Regions from separate parts of the Homo sapiens genome. Here all the other regions are linked to region 1. The links are contacts of gene promoters, found by promoter capture Hi-C in human tissues and cell types (Jung and others, 2019). All regions are on one chromosome and are shown on one strand. Each heading gives the region's core, a stretch centred on a gene start or on the middle of the fragment in contact. The rest is flanking DNA. Distances are from core to core; before and after follow the strand shown.

The links. The method cuts DNA at HindIII sites, captures the fragments that hold promoters and counts their contacts. A contact is called where the count stands out against the background at its distance.
Region 2: a fragment that was not itself captured here is called in contact with the fragment with the promoter of CLRN1 in region 1 in 2 of the 25 tissues and cell types used here (aorta and psoas muscle).
Region 3: a contact is called between a fragment that was not itself captured here and the fragment with the promoter of CLRN1 in region 1, in 3 of the 25 tissues and cell types used here (IMR-90 fibroblasts, neural progenitor cells and small bowel).
Region 4: a fragment that was not itself captured here is called in contact with the fragment with the promoter of CLRN1 in region 1 in 2 of the 25 tissues and cell types used here (small bowel and stomach).

What each region holds. Positions count from the first base shown.
Region 1 is chr3:150,970,770-150,976,436 of GRCh38, reverse strand. CLRN1 (clarin 1) reads left to right here and starts at 3,710. Exons shown (of 3, transcript NM_174878.3): 1 at 3,710-3,981. The coding sequence starts at 3,729. It overlaps CLRN1-AS1 (CLRN1 antisense RNA 1), which reads right to left and starts at 3,759. Exons shown (of 6, transcript NR_024066.2): 1 at 3,344-3,759. The HindIII fragment of the contact is 11,205 bases long and covers 1-5,667 here.
Region 2 is chr3:151,027,158-151,032,750 of GRCh38, reverse strand. All of the region lies in intron 1 of CLRN1-AS1 (CLRN1 antisense RNA 1), which reads right to left. Among named protein-coding and RNA genes, the nearest start is that of MED12L, 56 kb to the left of the region's middle. The HindIII fragment of the contact is 8,714 bases long and covers 1-5,593 here.
Region 3 is chr3:150,931,688-150,937,424 of GRCh38, reverse strand. All of the region lies in intron 2 of CLRN1 (clarin 1), which reads left to right. Among named protein-coding and RNA genes, the nearest start is that of MINDY4B, 29 kb to the right of the region's middle. The HindIII fragment of the contact is 6,636 bases long and covers 940-5,737 here.
Region 4 is chr3:151,008,679-151,014,345 of GRCh38, reverse strand. The region is part of intron 1 of CLRN1-AS1 (CLRN1 antisense RNA 1); the gene reads right to left. Among named protein-coding and RNA genes, the nearest start is that of CLRN1, 39 kb to the right of the region's middle. The HindIII fragment of the contact is 4,220 bases long and covers 1-4,032 here.

The DNA of each region.
Region 1 (5,667 bases), core at 2,461-4,960:
CTGAAGAATTATATCATTATCCAGCACCTGAAAGGGGTCAGAGGAGGGGGAGGCCTAGTTCCATTTTCTTATGTCACCGAATGTATTCCTATTAAGATTGAGAGAAGTAAAGATTTCAGCAGGATACTTGGTGAAAACTTGCTGACATTAATGACTCAAATTCTCAGAGAGACTGCAAGGAAAATGGTGTCATCACTGTCATTCAAGACATTTAAGATGAAATTTCAAAAGAAGGCTGTCAGGCATAATGACTGCCAGGTTCCATTATATCATTCTCAGAGGGTGGATCACACACACTACTACGCAGCCTGTGGGTGGCTGATGCTGAAGTTTGAAAGGAAGCTGCATGGAGAAGAGGTGAGGGGGGCTGCCTCACATGAACAGGATACAGCACCATTGATATTCATATGGTGATTTGGGGGTAAATCTATGAATCGGGGCCTGGTCTTTTGTTGTGGATATGCTGAAACCTAGTGCTGAAAAAATGTAGGAAAGTTTGAGCTGTAAATGGTAGTGCCTATTTATTAATTTGCTATGAGCATATTCCTCTCTAGCGACCCAGATGCTCATGTCTGTGTGCATTCCAGCACTGAGATGCCTGCAAAGCCTAGTTTGTAATCAGTAGATAGCCATGTGAAAAGGAGATAAGGGCAGTGGCTTCCAACCTTGGCTGCACAATGCAATCACCTGGGGTGATTCGACGCTAAGGCCATACTCTAAAATCAAATAAATCTGAATCTCAGGGATGAGGACACAGACATCAGTACTTTTAAAATCTTCTCAAGTGATTCTAATGAGCAGCAAAACTGAGAACCACCGTGTCAAAGCAAAGGGTGAGGTTTTAGGCCTCAAAGGGTGAGTCTCACCCTTTCCACTCAGGGATCTTTTATGTCATAGAGCAGTGGGTTTGATTTGGTTTTGTTTTAAATCAGGAGTAGACATAGGTTTGCCAGTTTCTAAATTTGTCAAATAAAATCATTAAAAATTCAACTACCATTATCTCATTAAAGAAAGAAAATTTCAACAATAAAAATTAGGAAGGGCCTAACTTCAGGATATAAGAGTAACTCAGTATGTTGTATTTATTTTTCCCATGTCTCTACAGACGAGTGAACATGTCGCTACAGACTGATGCAAACTGATGCAACTGATGTGATCTAATTGCTCTCTACACCCATAATCAAGGCTTTCCTCCTTGGACAGCTTTAGATATACTTGGCTGAGTTTGGGTTAATTAAACCGCTGTCCTATGCTAACTATCCTTCTCTTGCCATATCCTTTAGTAGAGGTTATTAATAGTATTGATTAAGTTGTAGGTGATTTCTTCTCCCAGGCTTTGGAAATGTTCTGTCTCTTCCAATTACAGAATATGTTGATTTAGTAAGCTCAGCTCTGCTTAGACATCTTAAACTAAGTTTTCTAGGGTGACTGTGGCACATATATGCCCAAATAACCACTTATCAGGGGCACTGGCACCCCCTTGTTTTGCTAGTGGACCATGATAGCGATTATTCTAAATCCAGTGGTGAATTCATTGGAGGGCCAAATAAACTGAGATGAGTTGCTTATTCTGTGTTCTAGCAATTATTCTAAATCCAGTGGTGAATTCATTGGAAGGCCAAATAAACTGGGATGAGTTGCTTATTCTGTGTTAAGTTATACAAAATAAAAAAGACTTACTAATATTGTAAACTTTATTTTAAGTGCCTCTTTGGAATCTTCTATATGCCCAGTTCTTCTGTGGCCATGTTTTATATTGCCCCTCTTCTCCCCGAAGGTACATTGGCATTCTAGAATGAGTTCTATACTTAGTTGTCTGTCCTTAACGAGACTGGCTGTTGCGACTCCTAGGAGAGGCGAGCTGTGAGAGAAGTTTACCAGTACTCCGAGTCTATACCTCAAAGTTCCCTTCGAAGTGTGCATAATGTAGAGACTCATTTATGCTGAAAATGGTGTGAAATAAGTCTTCATTTATTAATTTCCTCTAAGCTGTCATGCTTAAAGGTGGATCAAAAGAATAGAAGCTAGCATACACATGTGCTTTTGGCCAACTGAAAAAGTTCTATTTACTGATGTCTGTGTTCTTCAAACACTCAATATGTGTAACTAATAATGGGCTAGTCTGCCCCTGTTACTCCTAGACGAACCCAACCCAAACTGAAATGTTTGCCATCTTTTCAAGGTCAGGGGCTTTGCTTGGAATAGAACATCAACCTCAGAAGTAGAAGACCTGGATTTGAATCCCAGCTCCACTACTCTCTTCAGCAAGTTGCTTAAACTCTCTGAGCCTCAATTCCCTTATATATAAGATACGAATAATTGCTTTTTCTTCTTCTTTCTTCTTTCTTATTCTTCTTCCTTCTTCCTTTCTCCTCCTCCTCCTCCTTCTTCTCCTCCTCCCTCCTCTTCTTCTTCCTCTTCTTCATTACTTTATATGCTAATTATGAGAATTACATATGATAATTTAGGTAGAATACTTCACAAGTTGCCAGACATAAGTTCTTACTAAACATTAACTTTGTAGGTCAGAGCTCAGGACAATAACATGGCATATAATAAACATTCACTAGACACTTCACACACACACACACACACACACACACACACACACACACACACACAGTCCTGTGTCTGTAGAAGGAGGAATCTCATTGGAAATGCAAAGTTAAAAAGCTGTTACTGAATTCTGAACTTTAGTTTCCAGGTCTTGACCGTTTAACCAGACCTACCTGCTGCTTAATCTTTGCTCATAACTGTCTCTAGTCTCCCAAACAGATTACCTTTGCTGAGACCTGTGCATTTTTATGATGAATCCATAGAGTCACCTATCTGACCACCATCCCTCTTTCCATCAATATGCCCTTATCTTTACAGATCCTGGTATTCCTTGGACCCAGAAACACATTCCCTTGCTATTATCCTAAAGCAGCTAAGCCTGTTAAAGGAAAGCATTTAGAAATCTAGATATCTGCTCCTGCATTTTCATATTTCTGTATGCCAAGAAAAATTTGAATCAAATTCTCTATTGATACATTAGGTATAAACCATGGATCTGGGAGAAATTAAGTTGGAAGGACAAGGACCCATGGTTGATCCAGAGCACTTAATATTCGTGTAGGACCAAATTCTGTTTAATATTTTTATCCTGCTGTAATTAAAAATTTTTGACATCAACTATCAATACAGGTACATATGTTCTCCCTACCTCTGCTAAAGCTCCTTCCCCCACCACCAAAAACAATAACAAACAAAAAACAAAAATAAAAACATCGATAAGTGAACTTCTCAAGTTGCTGAAAATGTACCATCAGATTCAAGCCTGTTTCTGAAAGTTTCAACTCACCCAATCAGACAAAAGGCTGAGGAAGGGAAACATTTATCAAGTTACACTGAGGACTCCATCTGTTATCTTCGACCTTTGTTACCAAGTGACACAGAGGAGATACTTGAAGGCAGTTTGAAAGACTTGTTTTACAGATTCTTAGTCCAAAGATTTCCAATTAGGGAGAAGAAGCAGCAGAAAAGGAGAAAAGCCAAGTATGAGTGATGATGAGGCCTTCATCTACTGACATTTAACCTGGCGAGAACCGTCGATGGTGAAGTTGCCTTTTCAGCTGGGAGCTGTCCGTTCAGCTTCCGTAATAAATGCAGTCAAAGAGGCAGTCCCTTCCCATTGCTCACAAAGGTCTTGTTTTTGAACCTCGCCCTCACAGAAGCCGTTTCTCATCATGCCAAGCCAACAGAAGAAAATCATTTTTTGCATGGCCGGAGTGTTCAGTTTTGCATGTGCCCTCGGAGTTGTGACAGCCTTGGGGACACCGTTGTGGATCAAAGCCACTGTCCTCTGCAAAACGGGAGCTCTGCTCGTCAATGCCTCAGGGCAGGAGCTGGACAAGTTTATGGGTGAAATGCAGTACGGGCTTTTCCACGGAGAGGGTGTGAGGCAGTGTGGGTTGGGAGCAAGGCCCTTTCGGTTCTCATGTAAGTAGCAATTGCATTTGAGTTATTTAATGCTTTAGGCAGACTCTTCCCAGTGTTGCGAGGAATTATATTTGAGAATTTTGCCGTGTTTACTGCAGGACTTTTTAAATCGGTGTGAACCATATGAAAAACCTATGACTCTGAGCAATTTCTTCTTCCTAGTTTTTATTATTTTATACTTGCTTTTTATTATAATATAGAGTTAATTCATTGTTACATAATTAAGGTTTTTGGAAATATTGGCAATTAAGATGCTTAAGTATTAATATTTATGTAAAAAATTATGGAGTCTTTTTAAAAAAGTAAACTTGGGGAAATAGGAAAGCTGTAAAGAATGATCTTTATGCTTTTTGTTCTTTATAAAAAGAACCAAGGTCATGGGCTCCGTATTTAACCAGGTTGCCACCTTTCTCATGATTTTGTTTCCTGCTCCCCACTCCCTCCCATTATTCCTGCTAAGACCTTTCCTGCTGCTAAATATTCAGTTTTCATTTTTAACTAATTTGGAATCATTTGGCTATAGAAATTTAAAATGATCTGCTGTGCTAACTGGGAAAGAAATGGATGCCTATTTAGTATAGAACATTTTAAACTGATTGACCTGCAAATCATGTAGAGAATATGAGAGAGATTTTCTTGTTGTGATTTTTGTGAAATGGAAGTGTAATCCACAGTATTTATAACCTGTTTATCTTAAGAAGAGAATTTTTAAAAATTACCATGTGAATAGGCAACTCATTAAATGAAAATTAATAGGAAGTCATTTGTTATATCTCTTACAACACACATTCAGAAGTTATTATTATTTCAGAAGGGCTGGTTTGGAACAACCTTATGAAGACACAGTCAGTAAATTACTGCATAAATCACTCTTCAGGAAAGGAGGTTACCAACTGAAGCATTTAAAATGAATTATTATTTTGCCCAGGTTTTTTTTTTCTTTCTAGTATAGGTAGAAGGCTAAATTAATTGAATTTATTATTAACATATGCAGTGCCTAATTAAATTTCAGTGCTGGTCTATTTATATTTCTGCAACATTCCTTATATCTTCTTAGCAGTCATTGGACACCAACCTTCAGCTCACATAGGTTACTAAGTGATATGAATTTTCATAGGGCTCCAGAAAATTTCCAAGAATTGGTTGTTAGCTTTTTAATTGATGAAGTGGATACCAGTTCTTTTCACTGAATGGCTTTTATTCATTAAGGTAATGGGGCTGTTAGAGTTGCTTAGTTTTCCTGGGGAAGGGGAAGGAAGAAAACAAAGCAGAATGTCATGTGATATGCAACTGTATTAAAAAACCGAAAAGGAAAAAAGTTGAGAGAGATGATTTAACCGTGAGTCACCGGCAGCCAAAGCGTGAGTAAAGCTTCTCACAGATGAATTTAGACAAAAGCGGAGAAGGTACTGGTGAATTTTCTGGAGCCTTTACATTTTCTACAGTGAAATGGAGATAAACTTTACTCATGCCATAGGACATGTTTCAAAACAATAATAAGATGTTTTCTGAACACTTACTACATACTAAGCACTTTATATGCTTTGTCTCATTTAATCCTTACACAGCCACATTCTTCTGGGGTTTAGCGAATGATTTTTGTGGTTGTGTCCTATGCTTGTCCTGTCTAAGGATGAAGTTGTTCTAATTGGGTGCCCCTCCTTTTGCTTTCTGTGAGGACTTGCA
Region 2 (5,593 bases), core at 2,107-4,606, 57 kb before region 1:
TTTTTCTTTTTTTTTTTTTTAAGTTCAGGATTACATGTGCAGATTTGTTACACAGGTAAATTCATATCATGGGGGTTTGTTGGACAGATTATTTTATCACACAGGTATTAAGCCTAGTACCTATTAGTTATTTTTCCTGATCCTCTCCCTCCTTCTGCCCTCCACCCTCCGATGGGCTCCAGTGTGTGTTGTTCCCCTCTGTGTGTCCATGTGTTCTCATCATTTAGCACCCACTTGTAAGTGAGAACATGCGGTATTTGGTTTTCTGTTCCTGTGTTAGTCTGCAGAGGATAATGGCCTCCAGCTCCATCCATGTCCCTGCAAAGGACATGATCTCATTCTTTTTTATGGCTGTATGGTATTCCATGGTGTATATTTACCACATTTTCTTTATCCAGGCTATCACTGATGGGCATTTAGGTTGATTCCATATCTTTCCTATTGTGAATAGTGCTGCAGTGAACATACGTGTGCATGTGTCTTTATAATAGAATGAATTATATTCCTTTGTTTTCCCTCATTTTTTAAATAGTAGTGCTTATTGCATTGAGATGAGCAGAGTATGTTAAGAGATACCAGTAACTTATGGCTCCATTTTCATAATGCTGGTATCATTGATAGAGTTTGATCTGGAAGTAGTTTTATTATTTACCATTTACACACAAACATCAGAAAGAGGTGTGGATTTTATATGTGACTTTGTCTTTACTAATTAAAGGAATAAAAGGAACTTCAGAGTACCTCACTACTTTTGAACTAATTTATATAAATAACTGCCTACACTTTATAGTGAGGGTGGATTCGACCTTTAGGGAAAGATCTTTTCTGTAGGGCAAATGATTTTTGCCATTCCCTGGAGGATTTATTTAAGAAAGGTTTTCCTGTAATCAAGCCTCCCTGGGAAAGACAAAGACATTATTTCTAACAAATGCCAGTTCTTCTATCAACATTGTATGGTCTAAAATCCATGTGTAGGATGTGCTGTGATCCTTTTTTATGGTAGAGAGGCATCATGACTTGAATGGATAATTTCAGATTAGGCTGCACAAAAATTGTATGGAGACATTGTGATCTAAAAGGAGTTTTTCCTGTCATAAATTGTTTTGACAGTTCTATCATCCAGTGTATATCTCTCGATGTTGCAAAATGAAATTTATAAAAGAACGTAGGCCCTTCTTCTTTCTGACTTACCACATGACTAGAGATGTTCTGGGGAAGAGAGACCTTAACAAGGCTTGGAGGAAAGGCATCAACAAAATATTTATTATTCTCTCAACTTCCTTTCTTCAAAGTATTATAATTGAGGTCATTATAAATCTTTGCAAGCAACACTTTTCCCTGTATGCTATACCTGTGTATTAGTCAGGGTTCTCTTAGAGGGACAGAACTAATAGGACATATATCCATATATATATCATATATATGATATATGTGATATATATCCATATATATCATATATATGATATATGTGATATATATCCATATATATATCATATATATGATATATGTGATATATATCCATATAAAATATATATCCATATATATCATATATATCCATATCATATATATAATAAACTCCCCTTTATATATACTATATATCCTATACATCCATATATATGATATATATGATATATGATATATACCCATATATATGGATATATAGGATATATAATATGAATATATGTGTGTATATATGTATAGATATATAGATATATATCTATATATCCTATATAATATATAATATATATATCCTATATATATTATATATATAATATATAATATATATATCCTATATATATTATATATATAATATATAATATATATTATATATAATATATATCCTATATATATCCTATATATCCTATATATATCCTATATAATATATATATATCCTATATATATATCCTATATATATCCTATATATATATCCTATATATATATCCTATATATATCCTATATATATCCTATATATATATCCTATATAATATAGGATATATAATACATATAAAGGGGCGTTTATTAAGTATTAACTTACACAATCACAGGGTTCCACAATAGACTGTCTGCAAGCTGAGGAGCAAGGACAGCCAGTCTGAGTCCCACAACTGAAGAATTGGAGTCTGATGTTTGAGGGCAGGAAGCATCCAGCATGGGAGAAAGATGTAGGCTGGGAAGCTAGGCCTGTCTCTCCTCTTCACGTTTTTCTGCCTGCTTTATATTTGCTGGAAGCTGATTAGATTGTGCGCATCAGATTAAGGGTGGATCTACCTTCCCCAGCCCATTGACTCAAATGTTAATCTCTTTTGGCAACACCCTCACAGACATACCTAGGATCAATACTTTGTATCCCTCAATCCAGTCAAGTTGACACTCAGTACTAACCATCACAACCCACTACCAGAAGACATTATTACAAATAAAACAGCCTCTCACATCTCTTCAGAGAAGTTCCATGAAGCTGGTTCCAAATAAAAATGAATAAATGATGTTTATCTAGGTCCTACAGATAATGCTAAAAAGAAAAAATTGATTAGTCCATCAATTCTGTTATGTACTGACACTAACACCCTCACATTTTTGAGGTTGACTTATTTTAAGAAAAAATGGTTTAGAAGATGCAAGGAAAAACAAAGAAAACCCCATTAATATGTATTGATTTTGTTGTAACATTAATTTGATAACTTTGCTATTGCATTTCGACAGTGGTGAAATAATTGCGTTAGTGTGACTTGGTGAAAACATTATACACATATAAATAAAGTTTATCAATTTCTATTTCAGAGTCAGAGAAGGATCTGGGATTTGAAAATCAACTGCAATGATGTTGACATGCATTAGAAATCAATTCTCAACCATGGCAATCCAAACTACTTATTCATGATAGCCAAAGAATAAATATAAATCCTGATCAAGTTATAAGAATCACCTTTTAAATCCTCCTGCCTTTCAAAGGACAGCATTTCTCTCTATTGAAGATAGATATTTGAAGTAATAAGGTTCAAGTTGTAGTACTTTTTTTAAGTACCTGCTTTAAGGCATCGAATTTAAATTCAGATTATTCCTGAAATTTATTTAAAATGTATATACATTAATGGCCCAGAAAGCTGTCAACTTACATTTCTTCAACTACTGAGTTTTGAGGCAGCAATCTTACTATGTTTATCTTTATATCCCTGGTTCCATGCATAGTGTTGTGCACATAGCAGGTCTTCTATAAATATTTGTTGGAGATAGAGTAAGTGAATAGCTGAATGAGGCTTTAGGGTTAGGAGATCTACACAGTAGGTATTCTATAAAGGTTTGTTGGAGATGGAGTAAGTGAATAGCTGAATGAGTCTTTAGGGTTAGGAGAAAGTTTGTACGGTGTCATTTTCCTTCCATTATGATTCAATCTGAAGCATTCTGCAGCCTCTTTGGTCAGATGCAATTGATTTTCACATTTATATTCTGGTGTGGATGCAGCCCTGGGCTTTTAAATTTCTTCAATGGGAGGGATATTAGCACACATCACATCATATTATGGTTTGTTGGGTGTATTTATCTCTCCTAGAAGATTCTGAACTCCATACCTTTTCCAGTTTTACATTCCTGGTGGCTAACATGGCATGTGACGTATGGTAGATCTTCAACAAATATTCCATGAATTAACTGGAAGCCTTGTGGGATTGCATCCTAGTCTTCTGTAGCTTGACCTTGGGCAAATCACTGCACCCCTACGGGTCACAGTTTCCTCATCCATAAAGTGAACACTTTTAGCATTCTGTGACTCCTGCTTAACAGACTAGAAAGTAATACTTGGCTGCACAGTAGTAAAAACTGGGTAACTTATGGGAAATTTTCTCCTGTGCAAACTTTATTAGGAAGAGGAAGGGGAAAGGAACTAGCATTTATTATATGACTTAAGTGATCAACTGTGCAGTCACTTTTTGAGATAGAATGTTATATTTCCATTGTAATAACATTATTTTATAGGTGAAATATATTATGTATTATTTTATAGATATGAAAAATTGGCTTCAGAGAGGTATACAACTTGCCTAAGATCACATAGTTAGTGAATGGTTGGGCCAGGATTCAAATCCAGTTCTGCTGACTTCAAAGCCAATATATTTTCCTTTATGCATATATGTTCTACCTGCTTAAATTTTGATTTTAAAAAATAAAAAAAGGGAACCAGGCCAGGTGTGGTGGCTCAAGTCTATAATCCCAGCACTCTGGGGGGCTGAAACAAGCAGATCACTTGAGGTTAGGAGCTCAAGACCGGCCTGGCCAACATGGTGAAACCCCATCTCTACTAAAAATACAAAAAGTTAGCCAAATGTGGTGATGGGCGCCTGTAATCCCAGATACTTAGGAGGCTAAGGCAGGAGAATTGCTGGAACCTGGGAGGCAGAGGCTGCAGTAAGGCTGGATTGCACTACTGCATTCCAGTCTGGACAACAGTGCAACAGTGTGAGATGCCATCTCAAAAAAAAAAAAAAAAAAAAAAAGGGAACCAGTTTGCACTGAAGGTGGGATAGATCTTTTCATCTTGTGTTTCTTCCTTTTACAATTTGAGTCAAGCAAAAATATGAGTGATTCTTGCTGAAATTGTATTTCCCAATTTTATTTCATCTGCTTAAGTTCTATGAAAGAAGTAGAAACTGAGGGCATATCAAAATAAGGGAAAGAGGCTGTGGGGCAAATCAGAAGCAAGATGGCTCCATCAAGGGGACAGTAACATGAGAAGGACTGGAGGCAAGACGAGAAAGTGACAGGAAAGGCCTGGTGGGGGCGGAGGGAGGACAAAGGACATTTGCCTGATAAGAGCTAAAGGAACAGGTTATGTGAAAATAAACATATTCAGGATTGATATAGGAAGTAACAAGTTTGTGTGGTTTTATAGGAAAAGTTCCATAAGGATCTCTGTATCCCGTGTTAGATGGCTAGATGTCACAGCATATACCATGATGGGCTCAGGCCACTGCAATAGAATTTATATCTCTGATCTGATACCACAGTTTGTTTGTTTGTTTTTAGTGATAGGATCTCACTCTGTTACCCAGGCTGGAGTGCAGTGGCATGATCATAGCTCACTGTAGCCTCGAACTCCTGGGCTCCAGCAATCCTCCTGCCTTAGCCTCTCAAGTAACTAGGACTACAGGTGTGCACCACACCTGGCTAATTTTCTAAAAAATTATTTTTTTCGTAGAGACAAGGTCCTGCTACATTGCCCAGGCTGATCTCAAACTTTTGGCCTCAAGCAATCCTCTCACCACATCTTCCAAAGGCACTGGGATTACAGGCATGAGCCACCATGCCTGGCCTCTCAAAGTTTTAAGGACTATTCTTTAAACTTTTCACTGCTTGATTTTGCTTTAGTGGGTTTACTTTCAACACAACATTTTTACCTGTTGTAGAATTACCAATGCCAGAGATGTATTTGTTAGTGAGATCAAACTGCTCTCACACAATCATAGGCAAAATGTGGGATGTATTTGTATCTCTATAGGAAATGTGAAGAAAGTTGATAGTATCTTTCCCAGGAAATAGAAATGGCTCTCTGTAATGCCCAATTTTCTTTTCAATGCCTTAGGTTTTCTCAAAAGTTACT
Region 3 (5,737 bases), core at 3,008-5,507, 40 kb after region 1:
GAGTCATTCTAATTTGTAGCCAGTGCTAAGGGTTGCAATATAAGTGAATATATTTCACGTATTTGTCAAACATTGACTGAGTGCCCATTATGTGCCAGCCATTATAATAGGCACTGGTGATCCCACAGTGAATCAGGCACACAATGCTGTCTTCACGGAGCTTGTTGTCTAGTGGGAGAGTCAAACAAAAGTGTATATCAATAATTAAGTGATTACAGATTGCAATAATTACAATAAGGGTGATAAACAGGTTGCTATAATATACAATAGTATTGCCTTTCACCAGACATTTCTTAAAGAGGTAAATCATCTATCAGACACCTTTTAAAAATCTCATCTAATTTCAAAAGTGTACATAAATAATTAAGTGATTACAGTTTGCAATAATTACAATGAGGGTGATAAACAAGTTGCTATGAAAGAGAAAGATAGCAGAGATCTGGCTTTGAGATGGTGGTCAGGGAAGACTGCTCCAATAGCTGAGTTCTAAAGCTAAGAAGGAACTGAGAACCTTCACAGAACGTCCCAAGTAGAAGAGAAAGCACACTGAAGACTCTAGGGAAAGAGGTCTGCTTGTTGTAGGAACCGAAAGAAGGCCAATGTGGCTAGGTGCTGGGTAGTGAGGGGAAATGGCACAAGGAAAAAATGAGGTTAGAGAGATCAGTTGATACCAGTTAATGTTGGACCCTAAACATTAACCATGGTAAGTCTTTTAGAATTGATTCTAATTGCAATGAAAACCTTTTGAAAGATTTTAAAAAGATATCTGATAGCTGATTTACCTCTCTAAGAAATGTCTGGTGAAAGACAATACCATCACATTGGAGATGGAAAAAGATGAATGGATTCTAAAAACATTCTGAAAGTACATTCAAAATGTTTTTCAGGTAGCTTATGCAACTAATAAATAGTGGTGGCATTCTGGGTAAGACAAGGGAGGAGCAGGCTTGCAGTTTAGGGCAAGAAAGGGGTGGGGAGAAGAGCTCAGCACTAAAATCATGTGTTCCATTTGGGGCACATCGAGTCTGAGTTGCTATGAGACCACCAAGTGGAGATGCCAAGTAAATAGTCAGTTACATGAATCTGGAGTTCAGTGAAGAGGTCTAGAAGAAAGATGTATATTTGGGCATTATTCGGATATAGATATTATGTAAAGCAATAAAATTGGATGAGATCACCTAGGGAGAGAATGCACATAGATAAAAACTGACCTAGGACCACTTCATGTCTAAAACACCAAAAGCAATGTCAACAAAAGCCAAAATTGACAAATGGGATCTAATTAAACTAAAGAGCTTCTGCACAGCAAAAGAATCAGAGTGAACAGGCAACCCACAAAATGGAAGAAAATTTTCACAACCTACTCATCTGACAAAGGGCTAATATCCAGAATCTACAGTGAACTCAAACAAATTTACAAGAAAAAAACAAACAACCCCATCAAAAAGTGGGTGAAGGACATGAACAGACACTTCTCAAAAGAAGACATTTATGCAGCCAAAAAACACATGAAAAAATGCTCACCATCACTGGCCATCAGAGAAATGCAAATCAAAACCACAATGAGATACCATCTCACACCAGTTCAAATGGCAATCATTAAAAAGTCAGGAAACAACAGGTGCTGGAGAGGATCTGGAGAAATAGGAACACTTTTACACTGTTGGTGGGACTATAAACTAGTTCAACCATTGGGGAAGTCATTGTGGCGATTCCTCAGGGATCTAGAACTAGAAATACCATTTGACCCAGCCATCCCATTACTGGGTATATACCCAAAGGACTATAAATCATGCTGCTATAAAGACACATGCACATGTATGTTTATTGCGGCACTATTCACAATAGCAAAGACTTGGAACCAACCTAAATGTCCAACAATGATAGACTGGATTAAGAAAATGTGGCACATATACACCATGGAATACTATGCAGCCATAAAAAATGATGAGTTCATGTCCTTTGTAGGGACATGGATGAAGCTGGAAACCATCATCCTCAGCAAACTATCGCAAGGACAAAAAACCAAACACCGCATGTTCTCACCCATAGGTGGGAATTGAACGATGAGAACACATGGACACGGGAAGGGGAACATCACACACTGGGGACTGTTGTGGGGTGGGAAGAGGGGGGAGGGATAGCATTAGGAGATATACCTAATGCTAAATGACGAGTTATTGGGTGCAGCACACCAGCATGGCACATGTATACATATGTACCTAACCTGCACATTGAGCACACGTACCCTAAAACTTAAAGTATAATAATAATAAAATAAAATAAAATAAAAAAACAAAAATTGATGTAGGACCAATTCCTGAAGAACACTGACAGTTAATTTTTTGGTTTAGGAGGAGGAGAAGCCAGCAAACGACACTGAGTAGCAATATCCAAAGAAAAAGAGGAAAAAGGAAAACTGGGAGATTATGAGTGTCCCAGAGGGAATGTTTCAAGATTACCATCAGCAGTGAGCTTTGTGTAAAGGTGGCCTCCTGTAATAGAGGTGCGGGCAGGAGAAGGCAGAATAGGGAAAAGGGGGTGAAAAAGCTTCCCTCAAGATTTATAATACAGTGGAAGAGAGAGACAGAGAGAGAGAAAGAGAAAGAGAGAGAGAGAACTTAAGGAGGTAGAGGAAGAGAGAGAACCAAAAAAGAGGGAGCTGAGTATAGAAGCAATTAGATTCATAGTTTTTAGTTGCGGCAGTGATATTTGAGTGGGGGCCTTTTATATATTCCATTCTAGGTGTTTCCCAGTTGATGGGAGAGGGTCTTACCTAGATCTGCATGTAAAAGGGAGTAGGCCAGCTGGCAGACTTGACATGGATCAGTGGTAGAACATCCTAGCAGTTCTGTGAATACTCTCTGAGAATGACATGAAAGGTATTGGTTCAGGCCTTTTGGAGGTGATAAAAACCACCAAAATGTGGACTTATTGCAAATTGTATTTGTTACCATTTGCAATGATTATAATTATTCTCTTATATATAGGCTTTCTTACATATAGCTTCTCTTACACATAGCGTCATGAGTTATGCCTTCTCTTACATATAGTGTCTGCTATGAGTTATGCCAAGCAGGGCAAACAAAATTGCTGCCTTTCTTTAAAAAGAGGACGCTCCTAGTATGGGCCTAATTAATTATGATAATTACAGCTATGGCATGGAACATAAGCACATTCATATACACAAAGACAATAAAATAAAGAACAGTTCAAAAACAGAACAGTTACATTATATATCAGTTTCAGTATGAATAATACCCTGGACTCTGAAATATGTCTGGGGCACATTATTCTGTAATTGGTGGTGAAAAAAAATCTGCATCTTATCTCTACGCCAATCCTTATGAAGGAGCTGTTTTTCAGGAGTTCGAGAAAGAGACACAGGGATGTCCAGTCATCAAAGCCGCAGAGCCTGAGGAAGAATAAAGGATTTGTGGCAGGAAAACCCAGTAATGAATGTATTCTGCTAGTTTCTCAGCATAGAACTTAGAAAAGAGGCCACAGAAGGAAAAGAGAAGTAATGTTAGACAGCTGATGTTGGCAATGGGCAAAGAATTTCATTCTCATATGCAGGGCAGTGGCTAAAGGGGCAGTGTTGTGAGGAATCACATTCCAGGTCATTCATGTCCAGGGTGTGGTAGGAGGACTGTGTTTCATTTATTTTGTACATGGCCCAGCTATGACCTTGTGCAAGGAAATGCTTAATCATTTTCTATCACAGTTGCAAAGAGATTCTTATCCTACTCAGAATGTACGTCTTCTCTTCTGTTTCATTTACAGTCACAACCCAAGTCCTTGCTTTGACCTCCAAAGCACCACTTGATGTATCCACTTCAGAAACACACACAGACAGCTCACCTCTTTCTATCCCTTACCTTCCTCCCCTCTTCACTCAAACCACCTACTTCCTTTGCATTCACTCTTCCTTCAGCCTGAAATAATCTTCCTCCAAATATCTACCTTCTCACTCCCTCACTTCTCTCAAGATACACTTAAATGTTATATTCCCTATGAGGCCTCCCCTGGCCATCCCTCCCCAGCCTTCCTATCCCCCCTCTCTGCTTTATTTTATTCTCCTTAATATATATCACACTCTGATAAACCATTGAATGTACTTATCAAGTTATTGCCTCTCTCTCCCTTTCCATTGTCTCCATCACTGAGAGCTCTGTGAAGAAAAGGATTTGTACCTGTTTCATTTAGTGCTGTACCCCCAGTTCCCACAACAGCGCAACAGGCACTCAATAAATAGTTGTTGAATAAGTGAATAAAACAGAAGTAGCTGCATATTTTCTGGTAACAAATGATATTCTTCTGAAAATGTCATATTTTCAGACATATTTCCGAAAATAAATTCAAATTAGATAAACATTGTATTTTTAGACCATTTCTTCTTTGCATTAATCATCCTTCTCAATAATATAACATTTGTAAAACTTAGGTTAGATATGGGCTCTTCAACTTTCCATTACAGAAGATAAAGTGAAAAGGCTAGACCCAATGGTGTTATTCCTTCATCTACATCTATCCTTTGGAAACACATGACCAAATTGCTTGCCATCACAATCTCAAAATCTACCCTTTGGTATTAACTCACTTCACTTGTCCCTCTGTCCCTTTTTAGATGGTAGCCATCGGTCTCTGGAGCAGTGTAGAGTCAGAACAACTTCTATTTGGGGAAGAAATCATTGCTGGTGACCTTACTTTCAATTACTAACTTTCTAGTGACATTTACATAATTTTAGAGAAAATTAACACCTACACTTGTAAAGTTGTGGCTTTCCCACACCTATTTATCATCTCTCAATATTCCTTGAAAAGGAAATTATCAATTTATCATTCTATATTGGCAATGAAATGCCCCTAATATCTGTCACCTATAAGACAATTGAAGATGATGTGTTGAAAGCTTTCTGAAAATGCTGATCATTACTTTAAATGGAATTGAAATTCCAGTTTATTATTTCCAAAAATATGATCTTACTGATCATAGGATAACATTTCATAACATTTCAGAGATTTCTTCCCCTTCGAGGAGCCAAACCCATAGGACCTCTGGACTCCCACAGATCCTGGCAGGGAGTTCCCACTCATAAAAGCACAGGTGCCCTCAGAGTCATTCAGGGATGAAGAAGCAACCCTCATTGGCCATGTCCTACGTTCCCCATATAGTAAGGACTGGAGGAGACCAGTGCTCAATTCTGCAGTCTCAGACAGCTGTCAGAGGAGAGTCATGAATGTGCAGTGTCTAGCACATTACAAACGTTTGTTAATTGACTGATCATTCATGGTGTGACAGCCCTATAACTCAGCTATCCTATTCAGTCAGAAATTAACTCAGTAATCAAAGTCATTAAAAGGAAGAAAAAAAAAACCTACAGTACCAGACAGATGGTGGGGAAATCAGACAGATGAAAGGAAAAATGGCTGTAGGTCATTGAGTAAGACACTGGGCAGCAAAACCTGGGCCTTGTGCCTGGTTATACTCCACATTATAGCTCCAGCAAGGTTTGGCAGGATTTCCACAGTCCTGGCTTATTCTAACCTTTCTTGGGAGCAGGAGCAGTGTTGGTCAGATAGACAGACACATAAGGAATCTGTCCAACTGGCACCGTGTGAATTTGGGCTCTTGGTGTACATGGATAACTGGGAAAAAGAGGAGAGAGACATGTAGGACTGATCCTACCGTTTGTGAAGTCTTGGGCAAGAGTATGAATGAAAACCCACTTCTCTT
Region 4 (5,667 bases), core at 673-3,172, 40 kb before region 1:
CTGGGACCTCCACACTGGGATAATGAAGGCAGATTATCAGGAGGATTGAGAGCAGAGAGGTGAAGTCATCATTAAATTACCCTTTGAGATGCAATTACATGAAAGATACTGAATAGCTGCTATCCATCTCTTCTCAGAAATGAAATGGAACTGTGTTTAAACTGCAGCCTAAGGAATTAATGTTAGATACAAAGATGCAACAGAACCAATTCCATGCTCCCAAGACACATGTGTTTATAGTATGTGAGGCCTACTTCTGTACCTATCATAGTCTGCTTTGATTTGAATTCATTGTGTATTCATTCGCCATGCTTATTCATGCTTGTAGCCACAGTGCCTAACTCAGTGCCTCACACGGAGTAGGCTCTCAATAAATATTTGTTGCATTGCATTAACTTGTTAAGTGATGGTGATCAGGAAAGACAGGCTGGTGTTCTCTGAAAGTCAGTAAATACAGAACAGGTTTTCTCACTTGAAGTGTCTTAGGAATCATGGACCACAGAACCATGATGTATTCTCTTACTCATTTTTATTTCTCACATCTCTGTCTCCCAAGTTCTAAACTAAGAAATTTGTATTTCCTTCCATGGAGATGGTTGACTTGCTGAATTTTCAAGAGCAAAATGGTATCTATTATGTTCCTTTGAGCTTAAATCTATGAGATGTCCTTTAGTATAGATACATTCTATAGGTGAAGATTTCCCATTCTGTTTGCTACATGTTTTGAGTACATTATGCTGTTCCTGATGATTCAGTTGCAAGTTTTTCACATTCTTGTGCTGCGATCTTGCCCCCTTCCTGACTACACACTCTACCTGAGTTGGACAAGGGACCAATTAATGTGTTGTTTTATCTGTTATATGTACTTTCCTTATTTTGAAATAGGAAAAGGAAAAATGGGAAAACATTGTCTTTGCTACTTGTCTGAATTTAAACAATCTTATAACTTTACTAGAACTTAAAAAAAAAACCAAATCATTGGTGATCAATAAAACTGTAATCTGTATTATAATGCCACAAGTCTTAAAACCCGCTATATCAGTCAGGGTCTTAAAACCCGCTATATCAGTCAGGGTCCTGGCAGGGAGCAGATGACACACTCCAGGAATAACTGAGGAGAGTTTAATGAGGGGGTAGTTTCACAAAAATGGGGCAGAGTCACGGGAGCCAACAAGCGACAGTGAAGCACTCAGGAATGAGCCCCACTGGGGAGCTGTACCATCCATAGAATTGGAAGGGCAAAATGAAGGACCTGATGGAAGCTAAGCTCTGAGAGAGGGGCTTCCTGGCAGGAGCTGTGGTCTTAAGTAGAGGAACACAATGGCCAAGCCTGGCAGGAGGTAAATAACCCATTCCTCTCTCCTCGCATCCTCTAATCTTCTGACGGTGGCACCCATTGGCCAAACCCAGTAGGAGGTCTGCAGATACCTGCCTCCTAGGATATAGGAAACAGGGGGAAAGGGTAAAGACTATTTCTAGAGGGTCCAAAAATACACAGCCAATCACTGTATCCGTCATGGTACAGTGACAACCCCTACATGGCAAACCCCTACTTAGAATAATTCAAGAGGTCAACTGCAAAGCATCTATTTACAATACTGTGCATTATATAAGGAAACACAAGGGATAGGGCAGTAAACTGGAGTTAGTAGAAGTGAGGCTGTTACCACTCCAGCCCCAAAGAGACAAGGGGAGAATGCTGTTACCAGAACTTGGAAAGAGAGTATGTAGGGGAAGCTGCCTTGAGAGAAACACCAAGCTTTGTCACCAGCCTAAGGGAGGGGCCAGGTGCGTGGACACCCTCACCTCCTCCTCATGCCTTCTAGGCTCCCACAAGGGATTCCTATTGTTCAAAGCAAACTGGAGGCCAGAAGGCAAGGGGGTCCTTGTGGCCTGTCCATATAAGTCAGCACCCTCCTCCCCTGCCCCAGTGAAGAACAAAGTGGAGAAGAGTGACAAGTGAATCTGGAGGAACCAGAGACATCTGGCATGCCAGCTTACAACTAAGTCACTAACTTGTCCCTTCTTCCCACCCTTTCTTTCCTTTCTTCCAACAAACTTTATTAACTTTTGTGCCAAGCACTGTGCTAGATGCTCTCACATAAATTATTTATTTAACTCTTAAAACCTCCTTCAAAGGCAGGGGATGTTATTTTTCCCTAAACAAGCATCCTCTATTGTGTTGATCTCTCAGTGTTTTTCAACTGTTTTAATATAAGAGCTCTTAAAAAAATAAAACCTCACTGGAAACCTAAAGTATGCAACCGATAAACCAATATTCCTTAGCAGAAATTTTAAAACATAAATTTACATTTCCTTATTATTAGGTTTACCAAGGAGAATAGTAAGAATATTTTTGATAAACACAAGTTTGAAATCTATTTTACTGCCCTAGGTTGGCATCAGCAACCACAAACATTGACAGTCTCCCTGAAACAGACTTTGACAATCACTGATACAAGTGACTGAGAAAACATGAAGCTTTAACTTTTCAAATCTACAACTCCTCAGCAAAGCCTCTTTTTTTTTTTTTTAAATCAAAATCTGATTACTAAAACACATGAGATGCAACTGACAGCTATACTTTTCTGGTCACCTGTTCAGGAAATATCTCATCCCTTTGAAAACTCAGCCTTTACGCCTCAGTTATCGAACACTTTGGAGCAGCTTAGCCCAGGAAATGAAGGCTCTTGTTAAAAACATAGAGATTTAGGAAGCCAGGACGTGATTAACCATGTGGCGTTTTGCCAAATGAGCAGTTAACAACCAGGGCCAGGAAAACAAGTGCTGATTAGTAACCCCTGGGCTTACAAAAGTGGTTTAGACCCAATCCTAACAATCCACTGTGACAGACCAGAAAATTCCTAGCCTATTGTAGCTGGAACTGTGCTGCCTTTAAAAAAGTATTAGTCTAATCAAAATGTATTCATCAGGGCTTCTACATGTTTTTTTAAAAAACTCTATGATTATTTACATTTAAATTTAGCACACTAGAAATCTCATAGGTGTTCTCTAGGAAACATAAAATTAAACTTTGAACCTACTCTATTTTTTATTTTTTATTTTTATAGATTTGAAAGGTAGACGTGCAGGTTCGTTACATGGATATATTGTGTAATTGTGAGGTTTGGGCTTCTAGTGTACCCATCACCCAAACAGTGAACACTGTACCCGATAGGTAATTTTTCAACCCTCACCCTCCTCCCACCTTCTCCACTTTTGGAGTCCCCGGTTTTCCCAGTTTTATCATTTCCCTCTGTATATCCATGTGTATCCATTGTTTGGCTCCTGCTTATAAGTGAGAAAATGCAGTATTTGATTTTCTGTTTCTGAGTTATTTCACTTAGGATAATGGCCTCAACCTCTGTCCATGTTGCTGGAAAGGACATGACTTCATTCCTTTTTATGGCTGCATGGTATTTCATTTTATATATATCACATTTTCTTTATTCAGTCAACTGCTGATGGACATTTAGATTGGTTCCATGACTTTGCTGTTGTGAATAGAATCTACTCACGATGTTTTTAATGGTTAACATTTTTTAATGCTTTGATGTTGAATTTAGTTATTCATTCATTTATTCATTTAACATATATTTGAGTGTCGGCCATGTACTGAGAAGTGTTCTAAATACTGGTAATAAGTCTCAGTGGGCTAAACCAGGAAGAACACTGCCTCTGAAGTTGATCAGAATTGGGATACCAGTTTTGAATACATTTGAGTGCAAGAAACAGAATGCCAAGCTTACACTGGCTCAAATTATCCTTTTTACTTCTATCCAATCAGTAGAAGTCTGGAGGAAAGTCGTTGCTGACTGTGGTTCAGGGGCATGGCCATGAGGTGCCACATCTCAGCAGTGCTCTTAACCTTTCCTTCATATTCATCACTTCATGGTGACCAGATAGCTGTGAAGGAAGCAGGGACACCAGGAACAAGTTGGTGGTGGTGGCAGTGTTGGGAAGAGGAGTTATGCATATTTTAGTTGGGTCATGTTGAGTCAAGAGACTCCATGATGTGATGACACATGGCACATGTGTTCTGTGGACAATGAGAGATACAGAACTGTATTTAAGGACAGAAGTCAGAGTTGATGAGGCAAGGTAATATGATCCCCAGTATTGGAGGTGGGCCTAGTGGGAGGTGTTTGGGTCATGGGGCGGATTCCTCATGAATGGCTTGGGGCCATCCCCATGGTAATGAGTGACTTCTTCCTCTAGGTTCACCCAGAGAGCTGGTCGTTTAAAAGGGTGTTGCACCTCCCCCCTCTCTCGCCATGAGAAGCGCCTGTTATCCCCTCACCTTCTGCCATGATTGTAAGCTTCCTGAGGCCCTCACCAGAAGCCAAATAGATGTTGGCACCATACTTCTTGTACAGCCTGCACGACTGTGAGCCAAAATAAATTTCTTTTCTTTATAAATTACCCAGCCTCAGTCATTCCTTTATAGCAATGCAAAATGGCCAAACACATTCCCTCCTACCTAGTTCCAACAACAGAAGCAGAGGACAGCCATTTACACTTCTGTGGCCTTCCAAAGTCATCTCTGTCCACAGAGTAATGGGAATTTCCTTACACTACTGCAGTACCAAAGGAAGTGGGGTGGTGGGGGAAAACCAGGCAAATTAACAATGACTGAATGATTGTAGATAGAGGTTAGAGTTCAAGGAAAGTAGGTGATTGGAGAACACCAGGAAGATCAAACGTGGTCTTTCACGTGGAAAGAACAGAGCCAAAACATTGCTAAGATGATGAAATCAAATGAAAGCTCTTTGTCTCTCTGTATCTTCACTTGAGAGGAGAACTTTAACCTTTCCCTTAGGGGGGGAAAAAAAAAAACGGAGGCGGTTTCTCTAATCTCACAGAATTCTACGCTCTTAACATTGGAAAGTCACCTACTGGTCACCTAGTCCAGGCTGTCACCCCTTCCAAAACTGCCTTGGCAGCTGGCTGTTTGGCATCTCCCCAAACACTCATGGGGTTGGATGCTCATCACTTGGTGAAGCAGTTCATTACTTTCTGGGCAGTCCTGAATTTTAGACAATTGTCCTTGACATGCAATTGTCACTTGCTTCCCTGTAGCTTTAATTTATTGGTCCCAGTTTTATTTTCAGGTGCTTCATGAGCACATACTTTCCTTTTCTCAAATGAAGGGCCGTCCAATGCTTTAATGCTCTTTTCAGATTTCCACTAAGAATTTCTTTTTATTTGAGATTAAATATCCTAGCTCTTCAACCTTCCCTTCAGTGACATGGCTTTGGAACTCCTCACCATGCTGGTGTCTATCTCTCAGTTGGTCATGCAAGCCTGAGGCCCCCAGAGTGGGAGACAGCATTCTGTCTATAGGCTGAGCAGCATGGGGAACACTGGGACAACTCCCTCTCTGGAGTTGGACGCGGATGCTTCAACCACTATAGCCCAAGACTGCATTTGTCTCTCTAGCATGATGAGGCTATAACCCCATCTTCTGGGATTTTAGTGTACTACCACTTAGCTCTGTTTTCTTCTTGTGGCTTTGCATGGTACACATGAAATTTATCCTGAATTCTCCTTGTTTTATGACCTGGGTTAAATTCCACCCCCATTTCTTATCCCTGGGAAATTTCTCATTACCAAGAACCATGATTTCTGCTTCTACTTCCCTAACTGAAGTATTAGTTCAGTTTAGTT